3 separate regions of the Homo sapiens genome follow, and all the other regions are linked to region 3. Evidence: promoter capture Hi-C in 16 types of primary human blood cells and fetal thymus (Javierre and others, 2016). All regions are on one chromosome and are shown on one strand. The core of a region is centred on a gene start or on the middle of the fragment in contact, and the rest is flanking DNA. Distances in the headings are between cores, read along the strand shown.

Region 1 (4,097 bases), core at 1,046-3,545, 150 kb after region 3:
CAGAAAAATTCACTCTAGCCAGTTTGTTCTAGTGTAGAAATCTGGGCAAAATTGCATTTGTCTGACCTTAGTAGAACACTAGATAAATGTTTAGTCAACTATGTATGTCATTCATGAGAATCCCCCTAAAAACAGCCAGATCTGGGGAAGAGATGGTTAGAAAGGTCCCAAAGCTGAGGTAACAGTTCCTCAAAACATGTGAACCATGGCTATTAAAAAAACAAACAAACAAAAAGACAAAGTCAGCCAGAAGTCCTAAGATGTTCCTTATCTACTGTCTTATTCCTTAGAGACATCTACTTGCTTAAATTATGATATGCAAGTAGGTGAAATGCCGATTCACTTCTCACATCATCTCCAACTCCATATATTTCTTACGGTCTGTGACATCATCCAAAAAGCCAGATAAAGTGGTCCCTGAGCTCAAATGACTCCTGCCAAGACTTCCAATCCTGTTGGGTAGCCCTCTGTTCCCAGATGCCCAGGTCCAAGTCAGCCTCTGCCCCTTCTCCACTTCCTGATCAAGTGTGTCATTAAGTCAGGAGGGACCTCCCTCCACACCTCCATCCCTCCACAACCCTGTTGCTCAAAGCTGACATCTAGTTTCCATTGACACAAAGCTTCCTTTGATTTCACATTCTCTTCACTCTAATCTGTCACCCAGGAGCACAAATAACATTCCTAACATTCTTCCTCACATCTCTTCCTTGCTTTGAAGTTGGCTGCTGCTCTCAACTTTCCCTCAGTTCAAATCTCAATTCCTGCCATAGGTGAAGGCCTTTGGGTAGTTTCTCCCTACTCTTACAGAATTGCCTTTATCTCTACTACACTGTTCCTGTTCCAGTCAAATCTATTTGCTACACCTCAGCTGAACCCCCTCCTACCCTCTCCTCTATCTGGAATTTCTTTTTTTTTTTGAGACAGTGTCTTACTCTGTCTCCCAGGCTGGAGTGCAGTGGCACGATCTCAGCTCACTGTAACCTCTGCCTCCCAGGTTCAAGCAATTCTCCTGCTTTAGCCTCCCGAGTAGCTGGGACTACAGGCATGTGCCACCACGCCAGGCTAATTTTTGTATTTCTCGGTAGAGACTGGGTTTCACCATGTTGGCCAGGCTGGTCTCTAACTCCTGGCCTCAAGTGATCCACCCACTTTGGCCTCCCAAAGTGCTGGGATTACAGGTGTGAACCACTACGCCCGGCTGTGGAATTTCTTTCTTTTTTTTGAGACAGCGTCTTGCCCTGTTGCCCAGGATGGAGGGCAGTGGCACAATCATGGCTCACTGCAGTCTTGACTCCCCAGGCTCAGGTGATCTTCCCACCTCAGCCTCCTGAGTAGCTGGGACTACAGGCATGCACCACCACGCCTGGGTAACTTTTATACAGATAGGGTCCCACAATGTTGCCCAGGCTGGTCTCAGATTCCTGGGTTCAAGCGGTCCTCCTGCCTTGGCCTCCCAAAGTGCTGGGATTACAGGTGTGAGCCACTGTGCCTAGCCTTCCACAGGCATTTTTAAAGTCTGCATTTTCACATTGATGTTTTCATCTATCTACCCATCTATACCAAACGTACGGGGGCCAAGTGAATGATCACCTTATAATCTAGTTAAAGCCACACAATTTCAATACCTGTGTTTGTGTCTGTAACCAAAGGGCATAATTTCACAGTTGCAGGTGAACAAGAAAATAATGGATGTGGGGTTAATGATAAATGACAAGTTCACAAGAGAAAACTAAATGACCAAAATTATAAGGATACGAATTTCACAGTGATTTCAATAGAAAAACACAAGGAAGTAGGTTACCTCATGTCACCCAGCTGTAGAGCTGTGTGAACTTTAAAAAATGTATACCAAAGCAGCACAGCATTCACACTTTGGTAACTGAGTTCTGTCAAAACAATATCTCCTATCAATTAAATCAATATAATTATATAGCTGTGTAGTTTATGGTTACTTTGTAAGCAGACTTAGGTTAATAATGTGGGGTGGTGAGATTTTTTTCATTAAAGACCTGTTAAAATTCACTGATTCCATTGAACTCTTGAGACGTGTATGTGAGTCATCGATGGTTATACAAAGCAACATCCTCTCCTTCTTTATCTCCCTATAGCTCCCAAGGCTAAATCCATCTTTCCCTCCTCTGGCTTTCACAGTATTGTATTACTTACTACAGGACAGAGATAACTGTATAAGAGGGAGACTTCCACTATCAGCTCCCCAAGGGCACAGACTGAGTTCTTTCTGCCTCCCATAGGGTCTTACACAGAACCTGTGGTCACCCAAGTCCTACCGAATGGGATTGAAGTGCATTGACACAGTGTGGTGCACCTGGGATGTGTTGGTCTCTACTTTTTCTAGTCCACAGTCAACCTCTAGGGCAGTGATTCTCAAAATGTGGTCCCTAAACTGGTATAATCAATATCACCTGGGAAATTGTTAAAAATGTAAATTTTCAGGCCCCACTGCAGAATCAGAAACTTTGCAGATAGGACCCAGGGTCTGTATTTTACCAAGCCCTCCAGGGGATGCTAACGCACTTGTCAGAGTTTGAGAAGCATTGCTCTAGAAGGGAGGCAGGCTCACTGAGCTGAGTTTGCCTGCCTCTGTCTGTGGTTATTCCACCCACGGTGCATTTCTGTTTGCATGTATCATGTACATGTGTAAGTGTGCAGCCGTAGTGCCTTCACCTGTTCCCATCTTCTTCTACCTACAAGCAGGCAGGACTGTCAGTGAGGACAAACCATGCCCAGAGCCTTCTGAGAAGGGCCTTTTTGAGGAGGAGCTGGAATGTTGAGGGCTCAAGGGCTATCTTTCCCTTGCAATTAACATTCGCTAACTTTTGCTTCTTCCTTGATAGATTTTCTTTCTCTCCATCATTTTAGAGTCTCCTTCTCTTCCCCAGCTTTCCTTTTTCTTTTAATTTGAGACAGCCTCAAATTTCTTTAAATTTGAGACAGGATCTCACTCTGCCATCCATGGTGGAGTGATGTGTTCATAGCTCATTGCAGTCTTGAACTTTTGGGGTCAAGTGATCCTCCCACCTCAGCCTCCCAAGTGGCTATGACTATAGGCGTGTGCCACCAAGCCTGGCTAATTTTTCTATATATATACATTTTTTTGTAAAGACGAGGTCTCCCTATGGTGCAAAGGCTAGTTTCGAACTCCTGGCCGTAAGTGATCCTACTGGCTCAGCTTCTCATAGTGCTGGGATTATAGACTTGAGCCACTAAACCCAGCCAGCTTTCTTTCTTTTAATTTGGTTCCCTCTTTTCACTATCTCTTCTTCCCAGACACATTTTTTTTTTTTTTTTTGAGACAGGGTCTTGCTCTGTTGCTCAGGCTGGAGTGCAGCGGCATGATCATGACTCACTGCAGCCTTGAGCTCCCAGACTCAAGCAACCCTCCTGCCTCAGCCTCCTCAGTAGTTTGGACTACAGACATGTGCCACCACACCTGGCTATCTACCAATCTATCTAATTAATTAATTAATTAGAGATGGGGGTCTTACTATGTTGCCCAAGCTGGTGTCGAACTCCTGGGCTCAAGCAATTCTCCCACCTTGACTTCCCAAAGTACTGGGATTACAGGTGTAAGCCACTATGCCCAGTCATATTTCTAAAATAAAAAAGATAGGCAATGATACTCTAGATAGAAAAATAAATAAAAAATAAAATAAAAAAGATAGAAACAAATATTAATCTACTGTACTGAAAGGTTATAAAACAGTACATACTTTGGGTGTTATTCCCCCATTCCCCTAGCTCCCACCCTAAATCCCAGACTTACCCATTTTCCCTAAAAGAGATCATCTTCAGCAGCGCTACTTAAGGGTTACATGGCAAAGCATAAACTCTTACGCAAGATACAGCATTTGGCTAGCATGAGAATTTCGACATGTTGACCTTAGTGCAGGAGGCCAAGATCTGGATAAAAATCACTTCAAAGTTTGTTCTTCTCTTTCCTCTTATAATATTAAGCTTTCATAATCTAGGCTTGGAAATGTCAAAACTAAAAGAACAAATGAAACGTCCCTTGGAGAACTCTCTTACCCTCTGTGGGTTTTTCCTAACTGCAAAAGTCTTTGGGCTTCAAAATTCTT
Region 2 (4,107 bases), core at 805-3,304, 200 kb after region 3:
CAGGCTTGAGCCACCGCGCCCGGCCAGAGAACAGTGTTCTTAATTCCCAGTTCAGTGCATTCTCAACTCACTCTGCCCACAAGGCAGTCATGGGCTGACACAGGGAGATGTACCTAAAGCTGGAAGCAGGTGGGTGATGGAGCTGCTCACATCCCAGGCAGACAGATGCTGGAGCACAGGCAGAGTGCTGGGCTCAGCCTGCTGCATTCCACATCTGGGAGGAAGGATTTGAGAGCAGATCTCAAATTCCACCTCTGAGGCAGGCACACAAGTGCTTCCTCCCTCCTGTGCTCTGAAGGTGCATGGCTGGGCTCAGGCAGACCAGTACCTAATGAGGTCCAACTGCAGGACCCAGTCTTCTGGCATCCTAGCAAAGTGAGTTCAGGCCCACAAAACGTGTATTGGCACATAGCACAGCACAGCTTCTACAAATGAAAATCAGTACCTCTGTTCAGTTTGTGGATCTGTTTAAACATAGTCTTGTACCAGTCTTTTGATCTCTCAGTGTTCTGTAGAAAAACAAAGGCAAAGAGCAAAATTAAATGACTATCTTGACACATTTCAGACCTCCTATGATTTCAAAATCAAAATGGAAAGTAACAATATCTGAATTCAAAACTCAGCCACATTTATCTTTTTTAAAAAGGCAAAACTTTTTAGAAAGAGAAAAACCAAGAGTCCCAAACCTCAATCTACAGGGTAATATTTGGCTGAAAGGATACAGATTTTGAAAACAGTGGATGAGGATACACTTGAAAGGTATCCATTTTTAAATTTTTAAAATTTCACTTTTAGATAGAATCTCTCCATATATAGACTGTGCCAAACTGAAGGAAAGTCTCCTAGAAATATAAGAGACAAAGGATATTTGCTTATCATGCTGTGCCCCCAACCATTCTAGATTATTCAACAGCAATGTATCCGAGTCACCTTGCATAGGGCCAGATTTAGAATGCATACATTAAAACATAACTCGTTATAGCATCCACTGCCAGAGTTTTCACCCTAACCACAAAGTTGGAATGGTTGGGCTTTTTTTTTAAGATAAAAATAAAACAAGGAAGGTGACAGATAGGTGGCTAGATATTTTCACTCCCACTTTACAGAAGAGGAAATGAGATACAGAATGACAAAGCAAACTGCCCAAAGTCACAGAGCTGATGAGAAGGTGAGTGGAAGGGCCATCCAACGTGACGGTTAGGGGTAAGGGTTTGGGAGTCAGACAGACCATTCTGTCACCCACAAGCTGTGCAATCTTGGATGAGTAACAAATCCCTGAGTCCCCATTTCCTCATCTATAAGATGGAAATGATATTAGTATCCATTACTCACTTGGATGAGTGATGCTTAAATGAGATAATGTACTCAGCAAATGGTAGCTGTGATTTCTCTTAGGAATAACTCTCCTTCTATATTACTACTTAGAACCAGAGAAGAGTTATTTTGAGGCTTAGTCCACTGTGGTTTCTATTGGCCTCTTCCAAAGGGACATATTTGTTAAATGGAAATCACAGTGGAACATATTGCAGGCAATGGTCTAGTAGACACATGGAAAAGAATGGAATTCACCCAAATCCAGTTCCAAAAGTTGCCTAGCTTTATGTTAAATGTTTCTTGCCCATTGGAGCCTGTTCCCTGGAATTCCTTAGGGCCTGCAGGACTGGCAGGCCTGTGCTGCCGGGGAGAGCTGGGTCAGGGATGCCATGAGACCTGCTCTGTCCTGGAGGCTTGGCTGGCGGAATCCATTCTGAGGTTCCCTTAGTGTTCCCTACTCACTTTGGATGACATGTGATCTCCCATCCAGGGAGATCTTCCTGAACCTGTCAAAAGGGACCTTGGGCCTCACACTCTCCCCAGGATTCTCTTACCCTGGACCAGGAATTTCTCAACATGCTCCACACAGAACAATAATGAAGACTGCCCATAACATTGTCCCTAGAACACTCACATACTCAAAGCCTCTGAAAAGTTCTACAGCAGAGAAATCTCTCTGACTTGGTCCACCCAGCTTTTCCTCACATTTACTTGACCACGAAACCCTTTATTCATAGGACTTATAACATCCAACACCCACTTTGGGAAAAGCTGTTGTACACCAAGTCTGGAGCATAGCTTCTGGGGGATCTGGCACTCATGGGGCTTACAGAGACGATGGTGTGATGGGGTTCACATGTACTCAGAGTGTACACTTGTCACAGCTTAAGATGAAGCCTAAGAAGGACCTCTAAGTCAATATACATACCCGGAGTGGGATGCCCACTTCATCCATGGAAACATCGCTTAAGTCCTGAGTGCTCTTCACCACCCGCCTACTGTCATCCTTTGCTCTTTTTTCAATAGCCTTGCCAGGTGAGGTGGGTTTTTCCTGGGTTGGTGCTGAGTCCTGCTCTCCCACTCTTCTTTCTGAGACAGGATCTGGAAATGAAAAGCAATTGTTAGCTGAAGCTCTTTTGGTAGCTGCAAAACAAAACGCTCCTGAACAGGCTAGCTGGGGGGAAGCGTGTCTGCTAATTCTCAACTGGAATTAGTTCTGTTTAGAGCAGGGGTCAGCAAACTTTGGCCCATGGGCTGATTTTACTGGAACACAACCATGCCAATTCCTTTACATATTATTTATGGGTGCTTTTGCACTACGATGGCCGAGTTGAGTAGCTGTGACAGAAACCATATGGCCTGCAAAGTCTAAAATATTTATCATCTGGTCCTTAAAAAAAAAAAAAAGCCTTGCCAACAGTGTGATCAGAGCTTTGCAGAGGTATGCACATCGTGCTCTGGTCAACTGAGTAGTTCTGACTGTTCTAGAAATTAAGGAACAGGTAGAACCACAGGATGGGGCTAACATTACTTGAAAGTTTTCGATTCCTCTTGAGGAAGTCACTTAACTTTTCCATGCCTCAGTTTTCCTATCCAAAAACAGGGATAACACTTCTATTGGCAAGCTCACAGCAATGTGGTGAGAGGACTTATCAGGATAACTTATGCCAAAGTGTTCAGGAAGCTGTACATTGCTAAGTATACATTATAGATTATTTTTGTTCAAGACTGGAAGATATAGAGCACTAACAAAGATACCACATATGACCTAAGATTATAAAATTACTTAATAGAATCTGGCTTCCAAGCTATGACATTTATTTATTGGGCAGACATTGTGCTCTGCCTTGTGGACATGAAGGTGAGCATTCCAGAATCTTAGCCTTCAGGGAGCTTACAGTCTAGTGGGCAGAAAAACCAAGTGAGCCAGCAATGAGAATGCAGGGTGACAAAGGCCGATTCTCAGAAGAGAAGCCAATCAGACTCACAGGAAGCGAAGGGTGCTCCAGAGGAACAGCTTAAATAAATGCTTGGGGGCCTCTGGACTACTGAGCTAATTATGTGCCAAGCAATGCAATAAACTCTTCATTTACGTTCTCTCATTTTATCCTCCCAAAGATCTATGAGGAAGAAACTATTATCACCTTTTTTTTTTAATAGTTAAAGGATCAATACACAGAGAAGTTAAAGTACCCTGCCTGCGGCCACACAACCAGCTCATAGCCAAGCTGTGATGTGGCCTAATGTCCACCTGACTCTAGCAGTCCTCTCTGAACCACATCCTGTCTTGCCTCTTTCAAAGATGGTACCAAGGTTTCAAGTCTGGAAGCCTGGCCTAAGCCAAATGGAGAAGTTAGAATTGGGTTAGGAATGGGAGGGAGAAATGGCTGCTTCCATATGGACTATGGTAACTTTGAGAAGACAGCAAGATACTCAAGTAGGAATGCCCTAGAGATCCCTAGAGGAACTATGAAGGGGCCCAGGTGAGACACCCTAACAGGAGTGCAACTTTGGAGGCATCAGCCCAAAAGTGATGGCTGACGCCAGGGAGATGGCAGAGCTCAGTGGTGGACAGAAGCAAGGCCAGAGTAAAGCGCTAAAGTCATGCATGGAAGGGCACCACAGTTATAGCTGCAAGGCAAAAGAATCCCCAAAGTGATGCAAAGTAATCCGAGGGACAGGAGATGAACCAGAAAAGTACACAAGGTGCCACTGAACCAGGGAAGACAGAACTCCAAGAAGTGGGTGGTTAAATGTCTCAAAAGAAAAAAAAAAAAAAACCCCAGAAATTGA
Region 3 (4,233 bases), core at 1,369-3,868:
CATAATAGAACTCCTGAGACCCCAGTTCTGTACCAGCATGAGGTGGGCTACAAAAGCCATGCTGTCCTCAAGAAGGGCATATTCACCAGTGCCACTTCAGATATGGCCAAAGAGGATCACAAACAAGAAATGGCTTTCCAGAAGGCAAGCCAAATATCGAGATGACAGCAAAGGTGAGATTGCCTCCCAGAAAGCAGAATTAGTACTTGCCAAGTGAGCTGAGAACCCAAACACTGCCAGGATGTATGCTTTCACCATTCCTGCCCAGCAGGATTTGACAACTGGGTATTGCTGGGCCCAAGTCAGCTGGGTAATGCTCATTTTTCTCTTTCCAGTCTTGGAGTTTTCCATGCAATTTTATGGTTCCCACTTCAGACCTAAAGAGTGGGTTGTTTGGAGAGTAGAGATAACTTATGTTTTAGTTTCTAGTTTGCCATATGGCAGGGACCCCATCCCTGTTGGTTGAAGAGAACTGAGCAATACCCTCCATCTTGAATTTTGAGTTAGATGTAGCAATTCTGTGAGACTTAGAGGTTATGCTTCTTGGAGAATATTCTATAAATGGGAAAACTGTTCCATGTTGTGTTCATGGATAGTCAATGAATAGACTGTGATGGAAAATGCTAGTTGTCTCTCAGTATTCATGCCCACATCTCTCTCATGCATATGGAATCTCCAGTTCTTAGTTGAGCATATAGGCACTCAGAATAAAGATCACAGTTCCCAGACTCTTTCTGAAGCCACATAACTTAAGTCTGCGCCAATGGAATATGAGCAGAGGTAATGTGTAAAAATTTCTAGTTATTCACCTAGGCAAGGGGAATGTTCTTCCCCTCACCACTCTCCCGTCCCACTGGATGGAATATGGACGTGATGGCAAGTTGTTTCAGAAATGCCCTAAAGATGGTGGAGCAACGTTACAGAAAGAATCTGGGTCCCTGAAAGGGTGAAGATACTAAACCAGTGTGATGGATGATTTTAGGTGTCAACTTGACTGGATTCAGAGATACCTAGATATCTGGTAAAGTATTCATTTCTTGATGTGCCTGTGAGGGTGCTTCTGAAGGATATTGGTGTGTGAGTAGGTGGATTGAGTGGGAAAGATCCACCCTCAATGTGGTAGGCGCCATCTTATTGGCTGAGGGCCTAGATGCAATGAAAAGCTGAGAAAGGGAAAATTTCTCTCTCTTTCCGTGTGTGTGTGTGTGTGTGTGTGTGTCTATCTACCTCTCCCCCTCCTGGAACTGGAACACCCTTATTCTCCTGCCCTTGGATATCAGAACTTCAGGTTCTCAGCCCTTCAGCCTCAAATTGAGAGTTAGGCCATTGGCTTCCCTGGTTCTAAAGATTTCAAACTTGGACTAAGCCACACTACCAACTTCTCTTGTTCTTCAGCTTACACCATAGGACTTCTCAGCCTCCATAATCACATGAGCTAATTCCCCTAGTAAGTCCCTCTCACATATCTGTATCTATATTCATCTTTATTTCTCTATTTCCTATTGGTTCTGTTTTTCTGGAGAACCCTGACTAATACAAACAGCTTTTCACTGCATATGCTCAGACTGTCAATTGAAGAAACAAATTTACTATTTTGTGTCTTTGTTGAAGCAGCCAAACTTATATCTAACCAATGCACCACAATAAGGAGTTTATTCATCTTAAAGGCAGCGTGATGTTTTAGGCAGTACTTGGACTAGATAATTTATTGGAATATTTTAGTTCTAATATTAGATATAGTTACAATGTTAATATCATCAAATTGAAACCATTAAATCTCAGATTTCTGGAATGCGAATAAGTGAACCCATCATCCAAAGCTTACATTATTTTACTCCCTCTGGCGACTGGAAACATGGATAGGAATTGTGATGAAGAACTTCAACCACCAGTAACCAAGTTACACCTCACACAGTTATAAATAAAGTTAAAATCTTATCAAAACAATAAATCTTCAATATTTTATTAAACAAATATTGTGACCTCTTTTAAATATATGTTATACACACCCCCTTTCAAATTTTAGTTTTGCTAATTTGAGGCTCCAAGGTGGACCCTCCCACCGCCCCCCGCTGAGGATCATGAGATCTGGCTCCCTACCTGATTGTTGCAAGACTTTCACCTACACTACCTTGAGTACGAGACTTTCACCTACACTACCTCGAGAGGCAATCCCTAGAGGGCCTTCGATGTGCCTATTTATTTAAAAAAAAAAAAAAAAAAAAAAAAAAGGCCTGTCATCTCAGTGGGTTAAAGAGGCAGGGTGTGGTTACCTCACCTGGCTGATGAGCAACCCCCTTCTCCCTTTCTGCAGTGCAGGATTTTGTAAGCAACAAAATCTTATTTAAACTCTGTGTCCATCATCTTTTCACCACACTTGGCACAGTAGTCTGTGACCTATTTCTCCTGACATCATATCAGAAAGCAAGGCACACCTGTTGCTTCAACTTAGCTCACAGCCCATAGATTTTATCTCCCAGAAGCAAAAGAGATTGCCTTTTAGGCTTGAGAGCCAATGAAAGTGAGCCAGGACTTAGTTTGTGCTGGCACCAAGGAAATGCCTTTTTCCCCAGAGCCGGCAACTAAACTATAAGAGGTAAGCAGTTCTCAGAGGAGACAGAAGGCAACAGCTCTACCATCCTCCAAACATCTGAAGCCCCCCATAGAAACTCCTCTTGGAATTGGTAAGTATCTGTGCTCATGGGCTTCTTCTCCAATGATCTGACTGTTGCTTGTACTCATAAGGAAATTGTTTGCCTTATGGATTCATTCTCAGCACTACAATCTCAGTGATTATCCCTCTGAGCTGCTCAATTACTCCCTGTCTTTTCCTCAATTTACCTAGGTGGTTCCCTGTCTGACCCAAATGCTAGGCCGATTTCAACCCTTCTCCTTGGTCCGGAGTTTCAGACTGGGATTTGAAGCCTGCTGCTATCCAAACCAAAAATGTGCTACTCAGACCATCAGACCCCCTGACTCCAGGTGCCTAGTCCAAGCAGTTTCTCAGAACTTTAATTTTGCAAAGGATGTGTTGGATCAGTGGTCCCAGCTGGAAAAGGTAAAACTTGTTGTTTTCTACCTTGGAAACTTTGGCCAAGGCCAGTTGGTAAAGCGTCCAAAGATCATGAGATTCATATCCCATCTATGGCTGGCACTAGAAAGTGCAAATTCAGAGAAAAGAAATTATAGCAAAATGACTAAGAACATAGGCTTGACAGCCAGATGGTTCTACATTGAAATCCTGGCTCTGCTGCTAAATAACCATGCAAACTTGGACAAGTTATTTGCCTTCTAGGACCTTAGTTTTGTTATCAGTAAAATTGAGATATTAATGGTGTGTTTTTCACAGTGTTGTCGAGAAGATTAAATGAGACAATCAATAAAAAGTGTTTAGCACAGGACTCAACACCCTGAAAACACTCAATAAAAGTTAGCTTTTATTATCACTAGTAATATTATTGTCACATAGATATGATTCTAATTAACCAACATTTTTGAGCATCTTCTAGCACATACAAAATTTTAGAAGCCAAACACTAAAGGAACTTACTGCGTAGTGTTTTTCTTTAAAGCAAATGATAGCCACAAAGTGCTGAAAAAGAAGTGCCAAAGGAAATAAGTATAAGTATGCCTCTGGATAATGGAATTTAGAAAGATTTGATAAAGGAGGTGGTATTTACTGCATCCTGAAGAATGAGAAGAATTTCAACAAAAAGACAAGGGAAAGACTGTCTAGGCAGGAACAACCACATGAATAGAGACATCATGGAAAGAAGGAAGAGTATTCAGGAACAGTTTGGCTAGGTATAGGGTCAGAGGGAAGAGTATTGAGTTATGAGGAGAAAACAGGCAGGAAGCAGTCTAATTTTGAAAGGCCCTGCTGTGTGGAGTGGACTTGCTTACTCTCTGGCTAGGTAACTCTGGAGCAAGTCATTTTAACTCTCTGAGCCTCATTTCCTCCCTCTGTCAAGTGGGGCTGGTGGTGCCCGCAGGAGAATCCAGTGCGTGTGGAGAGTGAGCAGCGAGAGTTATTTGCATGTGTAATATCTGATTGCCCCTCTATTCTCCTCCCCTCCCCAGGCCCCTTCCTGGCCCTCCCCACCTTCATCACCCGCTTTGGGAGGAGTAAGGAAAGTGGACAAAACAGTAATTCATTGTCTTTGTGCAAAATATACTTACTGCCTTTGGTGCATCATCTAGGGTTAGATAAGAGGGAAGACTTCTGTTTAGGAG

Evidence for each region. The method cuts DNA at HindIII sites, captures the fragments that hold promoters and counts their contacts. A CHiCAGO score of 5 or more calls a contact.
Region 1: a fragment that was not itself captured here is called in contact with the fragment with the promoter of ACSM6 in region 3 in 1 of 17 cell types (total B cells); the score reaches 7.0 in total B cells.
Region 2: a contact is called between a fragment that was not itself captured here and the fragment with the promoter of ACSM6 in region 3, in 1 of 17 cell types (total B cells). The highest score is 5.3, in total B cells.

Annotation. Positions count from the first base shown.
Region 1 is chr10:95,346,536-95,350,632 of GRCh38, forward strand. All of the region lies in intron 25 of SORBS1 (sorbin and SH3 domain containing 1), which reads right to left. Among named protein-coding and RNA genes, the nearest start is that of PDLIM1, 58 kb to the left of the region's middle. RefSeq lists an enhancer at 378-1,030. The HindIII fragment of the contact is 3,355 bases long and covers 619-3,973 here.
Region 2 is chr10:95,396,775-95,400,881 of GRCh38, forward strand. It overlaps SORBS1 (sorbin and SH3 domain containing 1), which reads right to left. Exons shown (of 33, transcript NM_001034954.3): 12 at 2,243-2,415; 13 at 446-509. Among named protein-coding and RNA genes, the nearest start is that of PDLIM1, 110 kb to the left of the region's middle. The HindIII fragment of the contact is 6,773 bases long and covers 1-4,107 here.
Region 3 is chr10:95,191,620-95,195,852 of GRCh38, forward strand. It overlaps ACSM6 (acyl-CoA synthetase medium chain family member 6), which reads left to right and starts at 2,619. Exons shown (of 11, transcript NM_207321.3): 1 at 2,619-2,684; 2 at 2,846-3,058. The coding sequence starts at 2,867. The region is part of intron 3 of LOC107984257 (a long non-coding RNA gene); the gene reads right to left. The HindIII fragment of the contact is 2,815 bases long and covers 1,819-4,233 here.